Linked DNA regions of Homo sapiens: region 2 is linked to region 1. The links are contacts of gene promoters, found by promoter capture Hi-C in human tissues and cell types (Jung and others, 2019). All regions are on one chromosome and are shown on one strand. Each heading gives the region's core, a stretch centred on a gene start or on the middle of the fragment in contact. The rest is flanking DNA. Distances are from core to core; before and after follow the strand shown.

Region 1 (3,993 bases), core at 566-3,065:
AAACTCCTGGGCTCAAGTGATCTGCCTGCCTTGGCCTCCCATAACGCTGTGATTACGAACGTGAGCCACTGCGCCTGGCCTAAATATTTCTAATTCTTTTTTTGTTTTCAGTTCCCTACTGTGAAAATTTAAGTAGATTCTTAAATGTTTGATGGATAAATGACTGGATGAATAGCATCATGTGATTATTCTCTTCCCAAGACTGAAAAGTAAACACCAAGATTGTACGCACCTTATTCTTTTCATTTTGAATAATTTCTAATAGCTGGTCTGTGTGCCCTTCTTCTATGCATCTTTGCCCAGCTAACTGAAATAGGCCAAAATCCTCTTCTTTAAAGTCTTGCTCTTCTAGGATTTGCTGGCAAAAAAAAAAAAAACCCAAAAAACAAACAAAAAAAAGTATATGCAAATAAAAATTAAATACAATAACTTCTTGATTTATCTATGAAAAAAGGAAATCTGTTTAAATTCTAGATAAATGTAACGTAAATAACACACGTATCAAAATTAGGATTACCCTAATAAATACTTTAATAAGTGACCTTGAAATCTACTGTACCAGTGAAATCTATGAAAAGGATCAGGATTAAAATGTAAAAGGTTATTTAGATAAGTATGTCACCTGGAGAAATAATCCAATCTGCCTCCCCCACTCATGCTCTTTACAGGTCAAAAAAAGCAAGGATTAAAGAAGATAAACAATTTGAGTGACCACAAATATAATTAAAAACAATCTGTGCCCTTCCCATATTTTGAAAGGTATTTAATTTTACAAAAATTAATACTTACACATCTCTTTATTATAGACTGAAGTTCCTCTACAGCCATTCTTATTTCTCCTAGTTTCGATGCTAAAATCTACAAATACAAAACACACTGTTAACTATCCGTGATATTACACTTAAGTATTCAAAAGTTATGTTTCAGTGTGATAAATTATTAGTAAATACAATAAAGAAAATGGAAAGTTTTTGTTGTTGTGTTTTTTGGTCCAATAGCATGCTAGGAGAAAATGTAAAGTTTTAAAGTTGAAATGTTATTACTGAATCTTAGTATGTTTGCCTAAGAAAATAAAGTGTTTTTTTAGAAGCCCTTATTGCATGTTTTAAGTTTTCTAGGAGCATAGTTTTGAAAGCTACTTTGAAGGAAAAAAAAACAAAAAAAACCTCTCGAGCACTCCCAAGAGGCGAGGCATATACGAACTAAAGGGCTTTTAAAAAGCAAAGCACTTCTTTTCTGAAAAAAAATTTCCAAAAGGTGGACCTGAAATCAAAATTCTAATCATCAGGGGATTTTTCATTTTTAATGTCTCACCTCACAAAAATTGGGGTGCAACACAAGCTTATCTATAGGGGGTGAAGATTCAGATGCCCTCCATTCCATTTCTCTCTAGGAGTTGCAGTCCCCAAAGTGATCAATCCAGCTAGTGAAATCACTGTATCACACGGAGACAAGACAACGGCGGCCTTCAGGAGGAGACCATCGCTTCTCCTGGCGGCAAGGCTCGGCCCCAAGCCCTCAGTAGGGGCGCGAGTCAGCCCGGTCCTCAGGGCAGCGCGCTGGAAGGCGAGTGAACACCCCAGCGCGCGTGCGGGCTGCATCAGAGGAAGCCATGTCTTCCGATTCCTGCTCGCCTAGGTGGGCAGGCTCCACCACCTCGCGTGGCCTAGTCGGCCCGCAGCACCAAGTCCGCCGCGGCTCACGGCCAACCGCGAGCCCTGGCCACCCTGAACCTCTCCACAACTCCACTTACCGGCCAGAACCCTCGCCTCTCCCAGCCGCCGCCACCTCCTCCGGCGTCTTAGCCCGCTCTTCTGGCCCCGCCCCGCGCTACGCGTAGGGAGGCGGGGCCTCGGGGCGAGACGCCGGAGCGTGTCCCCGTCCGGCAGACTACTCTCCCCCATGGCGGACTTCGCTGGGCCGTCTTCTGCCGGCCGCAAGGCCGGGGCTCCCCGCTGCTCTCGAAAAGCCGCAGGTAGGAGCAAGGATCTCTTCCCACTTTTGGACCCTGAAAGCTGGGCCCCGATCTCGAGTTATAGACCGCAGCGCGCGGGCGCTCCTGAAAGGCTGCTTCAGGGGAGGGGTTCTCCCAGGTAGAGTAGGCCGAAAGCTTCCCACCGCCGTCCGCACCTCCTGGGAAAGATTTCCTGGCCGCCCCTCACCCCTTTACGCCAGTGTTCCAAGATTTCCCTCACGCGGACTGTGGCCCCAGCCTCTGAGACAAAGGACAGTGGAGGCCCCGGGAACCCAGGCCTGGGGTCCCCGGGTTTCGGGGCAAGTGACTAGGGCAGCGTTGGCAGCTGGCCTTGAACCTAGGACCGGTCCTCCTTTCCAGATTGCTTGGGTGCCCAGTTCTTTAAGGTGCCGGACTCCCCTCTTCCCCCAGAGAGGACGTTTGGCAGACGGAGAGAGGTTTCCCCTAAAAGTACCCAGATCTCAGATTTTCAGGAGTGGTTAATTAAGCAACTATGATACAGAAGAAAATTCAATCCCCAAAGAGATACATTTTAACCAAGAAAAATTAGACAGTAATCAATTTGCAAAAACAAATTGCTCTCCCTTCCTATTTCATTTTGATTTACACACGATTGGACATAAAATATGTGGAAAAGAAGAAAAGGTGGTCTACAGTTTGTTATTTGTGTAGGAATCTATCTTGTACCTAATGTGTTTGTGTAGACCTGACCTACTGCCACCATGTGTAGCTTAACTGCGGGGATGCATTTTGAGAAATAAGTTGTTAGTCGATTTCATCCTTGTGTGACCATCATCGAGTGCACTTACACAAACCTAGATGGTACAGCCTACTTACACACTAGGCTATATGGTACAGCCTATTGCTCCCAGGCTACAAACCTGCACAGCATGTTACTGTACTAAGTACTGTAGGCAACTGTATATCTAAACATAGAAAAGGTACAGTAAAAATACAGTATTTTAATCTTATGAGACCGCTGTCTGTATGCTGTCCGTCGTTTACGGAAATGTCATTATGTAGCACATGACTGTATTTTTATTGTAGGTACTAAACAGACAAGTACTTTGAAACAAGAAGATGCTTCTAAAAGGTATGACAGCTACATGGACAACTACATTGGCATATCTACTTATCTTGTATTACTTGTACCAATTTTAAAACAATAATGGTTACCTTTTTTTTTTTAGAGAAAATTATCATGAGAGGGAAGGGAAAGATCTGGGAAGGCCTATAAATTCTCACATAGACTGTTACATTCCTCTACTCCAGGCTTTAAGAAAACCAAACTAAGCACTCAGACTGCTAGTGAAGGAATGAGTGTCTGTAGAAGGTGTTTGTTTTTCACCGCTTCAGGTACACTCTCCTTTTATTGCTTTATATGCCAGAGACTCACTCTCCAAGTTTCGCTGTCACTCCAAGAAACCTTTTCTGTTCTTTGTTACATCAAGTCCAGATTTTCATTAAAAAGCTGTCTTGTACTAGTTCTGGTTCTAAAAAGGCAAGATATTACCACATATCACACAGAGTTTCTAGAAGAGGAGTAGAATGTGAAGGGGATTAAAAGCATATGTAGCTATGATTTTTATTTTGTGAAGACTCACTAATCTTATATTGGCTTTGGTCTTAATTTACTCATTCTTTCAAAAATTATTTATTGAGTATAAGATATGTCGGACCTGTGTTAGGCTCTGAAGATATGGTGAACAGAATAGACACAGTTCTTGCCTAGTGGAACAGAGGAATAAATAATAATAAATTAATTAGTTAATTAACATAAACAAATACATAATTACAAATTGTGATAAGCACTATGAAGGAAAAGACTGTGATGTTACGAGAAGGAATAACGAAGTCTAATTTAGTTGGAGGTGGGTGGCAGGGAGGTTGGCTGTGAGTTTTCAGCGAAAGCCTTATGCTGAGACCTGCGTGCTAAGTAGACATTAACCATACAAAGAGTATATAAAGACTTATGTATGTGCAGTGCAAAAAGTAGCTTGTTTCCTTTTTGAAAAGTA
Region 2 (3,993 bases), core at 892-3,391, 780 kb after region 1:
AAGCCTACCACCTCAGCCTCCTGAATAGCTGGGACTACAGGCAGGGGCCCAGCTAATTTTTAAATTTTTTGTAGAGACAGGGTCTCACTATGTGGCTCAGACTGCATACTGGTCTGGAACTCCCCAGCTCAAGTGATCCTTCTACCTTGGCCTTTCAAAGTACTGGGATTACAGGAGTGAGTTGCTGGTGGCTGGCTGACAGGTATTCTTTATACTTGACTGTGACTCCCTGAGTGTCCTTAAATCTCTGAACACTTGGTTTGCTTACACCTTTGTACTCACACGTTTGCACAGAAAAATAACACTTTTTTTTGATAGAGGCATAATTTACTTCTCTAATGTATAAGGGATTAGAATACTTTTGTGTAGCCAAAGAGCCTAAATTATTAGAGTTTCTGAGGTGGAAATGAATGCGTCTGAAGTATTGAATCACTGAAGATTTTGAAGTTGAGGCTTGGTGACCACTTTACAGAAATGTTGAGGAAAACTTAGACCAAACGTTCTCCAAAACAGATGTTCTCTGATTAGGCTTAGCTGCACAGCAAATATATCTGTTTGTGCAATATCTTTATTAATTTTTGTACTGCATCTACTTTTTAATATTTTATTTATTTATTTACCTTAATGCCACGTTCCTGAATGGGAATGCATCTACTTTTTTTTTTTTTTTTTTGAGATGGAGTTTTTGCTCTTGTTGCCTAGGCTGGAGTGCAATGGCACGATCTTGGCTCACCACAACCTCTGCCTCCTGGGTTCAAGCGATTCTCCTGTCTCAGCCTCCCGAGTAGCTGGGATTACAGGCATGTGCCACCACACCTGGCTAATTTTTGTATTTTTAGTAGAGACGGGGTTTCTCCAAGTTGATCAGGTTGGTCTCGAATTCCCGACCTCAGGTGATCTGCCTGTCTCGGCCTCCCAAAGTGCTGGAATTACAGGTGTGAGCCACCGCGCCCGGCTGCATCTGCTTTTTTTAAGTCAAAATTTTCCTCAGCCAACGTATGAAGGTCACTTAAGACGAATTTATGAGAGACGATGATGAGAATTGAAATAAAGTGAAACCTGAAAGGTAGTAGGTAAGTAGATACAGTGAGGGTACAGTAAGAAGACAGACTTAAAAGATTAGGACTATTATTCAGGAGAAGCAGAGGAGTGGAAGGGTATGACCACAATATTTAAAGTATTGAATGGTATTGGATAAAACGAATATGCTTATTTGCCAAATTCTGAGATCACAGGCTGAGGGAACCCCTTTTGAAGTATGAGCCAAATGAGCTTAGACCACAAAAGGTACTTTTTCAGAGACAGAAAAAATATGGTGTTCACTATCCCTGTGGCATAATATGGGACAAAAATATAAAATGGCTTTAAAAATATTTTGACGAAATTATAAATAAAGATTCCACACGTGGCTACTAAGAGGAGCTGGGTTGTATCTAGGTGTAAGTTAAAGAGACAAGCATACAATCTCACAGCTTGTCAGTTGGGACCCCTGTAGGCAGCAGAATCTGGGCAGGCTAAGGGTCTGCACTAATAAACAATTCTGTTTTCTTAAACCATTTTGCAGGGGACTATTCTCAGATTTCATTACAACTAGGAAGGACTGCAAAGCGGGTAAACAGAAAACAACCTTTCATCGTTAGGAAAAAAATCGTCTGAAAGTCTTTCATAAAAGCAGCTCCTGATAAGGAGTTTGGGACTGGACAGTGAATCGCTGAATAAAATTTAATCTCGACATCCTGGGTCTTCTCCCCTCTGAAGGAAATTCTAACAGCAGGCCTTAGGATGAAAGTAGAGGAAACGTGCTTCAGTTAAGGTTTTCTCCAGGGAAAAGAAATCGGCCCAGCAAGATGCACAGAGCACCGTTACGACCACGCACACCGAAGGTCGCACACGACCCTTTTCCTGTATAACAGTGCCAGCCTGCCGACGATCAGGAGCGCAGCTTTCACTATTGTGTTAGCCCCGGCGGCGGAAGGACTGAGCCTCACTGCAACGTTAAAGAGTCCTTCTTTGTTCAGCCCCAGTCGGGGACGCAGGGCGCGGTGTTCCTCCGCGCTCGCCGCGCAGTCCCTGCCCCCCCGCGGCTTTGGAGAGCTGCCATTCGGCACCGGAGTCGCTCCGCGCTCCCAGAATGCACCGGCAGTCCGCGGGAAACCAAAATGGCGAGGGGCTGTATTGAAGTGGGCTGTGTTTGAGGCCGGTGTAAGAACGCTCATTCTACCCCCAACCCTTGTCTCCAAGGACCTCGGTTTGTGCGTGCATATGTGCCGGGTACCCGGTGGGGCGGGTGCCCAGTAAGTGCTCGGACTCGCAGGGGAAGCGCCCACGGGGACGGATTGGTTGTTTTTTCCTGTATGAAGCGGTTGGCACCACTGAAGTGACCGAATGAGGTGAGAGACCTTGGCCTGGGAACCGACTCTTCCGGAGGAGATGGGGGTTGGGGGAAGGAGGAAGAAAGGAAGCAAGTATAAAAGGGAAAGATGGAGGACCAAGGTGGGGGTGGGGGCTCCTGTATGTGGGTGCCTTTGCATTTATGTGTATATTGAAAAGAATGGATGAAGAGGAGTAGTCAGTTGAGTGTTGGGAGAAAATAGGGACTAAAGGAGCGAGGAGGTCGTTGGGGGAGTCTGTTGGAGGAACAAGATGAAACGTTGAGACGGGGAAGCTGTGTTTGGAGGGCAGGAAGGAACCTGGGGGCGGGAGACGGTTGGAGGGGCAGGATGAACCTGGTGACGAGGGGGTGGGGAGCCGAGAGGAGGAGCCGTTGGGAAATGGGGGCTGAGGGAAATGTGGGGAGCAGAGTGGAGGGCTGCCTGGGACCTTAGCAGTGCGCAAAGGGAAGTAGCAGCTTGGAATCGGAGGGTGGAATTGTATGGAATTGGAGTAAAGGGGGTCGAGTGTAAGTGCTGGTAAGGATAAGGGGAACACACTGAAGTGGAGGTTGGAAGCACAACCTGAAAGCTTAAAGGGAAGCGGTGGGAGGGAAAGTGAGATGGGGGAAAGCTAGGTAGCTTATATTTGGAGCTCACCAAAAATATGAGGCTTTTCTTGTGTTTAATTAAACCTAACTCATATAATCTACGTCTAGGATGTAGATTTGTATTGTATTCATTTTTACAACTGAGGTAATTACGGCTCAAGGAATTTTAACCAATTTGCCAAGATTTCTTAACATATTTCGGTAGTGCCAGAACTCTAACTCTGTGTTTTACAATCTGGTGTCCTTGGTTGCTAGAATTTTTCTTTGGAAGCAATTAGAGGGAACAGATGGATTTATCGGGGTAATCTGACTAACAGCAAGGGTTTGTGAACAATGGGAAAAGGCTTATGGAATGTTACTCTATTCTTTAAAACATTTAACTTTGGTTAAAGATAGAAACCATGTAACACTAACTTAAATGTGAAAACCTAGCTAGGCCTGTGTGTAATACATAGGAAGGCACCATGTGAGGTCAGTACAGAGCTAGAAATATGTAAATAGTACCTGATTTAATTTGACTTCAGAACCTCCGGTAGTAATAGTAGTTACTTTCTCCTTCAGATGGATTCCATGTGACCCTCCTGTATACCTAGCCTACAAGCTGGTTTCAATTTCCATGGTTTCATTCTCTCTTGGGAATTCCTTTTTTTTTTTTTTTTGTCAGTAAATTTCAAAGATAGTTGTATGTAGAAGTAGTTAATGTGGATAAAATGTAATTAAATTCACAATAACCTTTTTAAGATTTGAAAATGCTTTAAAGGGAGTTGTTTTGACTGATGGCTTTAAGTGCCCTATAGTTTAGTTATAACTTGAGAGGGAATACAAAATGACTTGTTTTTTCAGATTCCTAAATATAAAAATGTATTTGAATTCACATTTTAAAATTAGTTCACCTGCAGTTTTTTAAAGTGCTAAAAATGTTCTAAATATTTGAATTAAGAACACACCTGCTTCCTGATACTACATTTATAATGTTAGTGGGTATTAACGGAAATGTGTAACTATCAGGATGA

The links. Contacts are between HindIII fragments. The study calls those that stand out against the background at their distance.
Region 2: the fragment with the promoter of MTF2 here is called in contact with the fragment with the promoter of GLMN in region 1 in 1 of the 25 tissues and cell types used here (adrenal gland).

The regions. Positions count from the first base shown.
Region 1 is chr1:92,297,172-92,301,164 of GRCh38, forward strand. GLMN (glomulin, FKBP associated protein) reads right to left here and starts at 1,816. Exons shown (of 19, transcript NM_053274.3): 1 at 1,754-1,816; 2 at 790-858; 3 at 233-358. The coding sequence starts at 828. RPAP2 (RNA polymerase II associated protein 2) reads left to right here and starts at 1,888. Exons shown (of 13, transcript NM_024813.3): 1 at 1,888-1,975; 2 at 3,023-3,068. The coding sequence starts at 1,903. RefSeq lists enhancers at 914-1,810, 1,382-1,851, 2,072-2,301 and a silencer at 1,313-1,650. The HindIII fragment of the contact is 5,439 bases long and covers 1-3,189 here.
Region 2 is chr1:93,077,142-93,081,134 of GRCh38, forward strand. It overlaps MTF2 (metal response element binding transcription factor 2), which reads left to right and starts at 2,142. Exons shown (of 15, transcript NM_007358.4): 1 at 2,142-2,390. The coding sequence starts at 2,386. RefSeq lists enhancers at 1,705-1,954, 1,891-2,185. The HindIII fragment of the contact is 11,533 bases long and covers 1-3,993 here.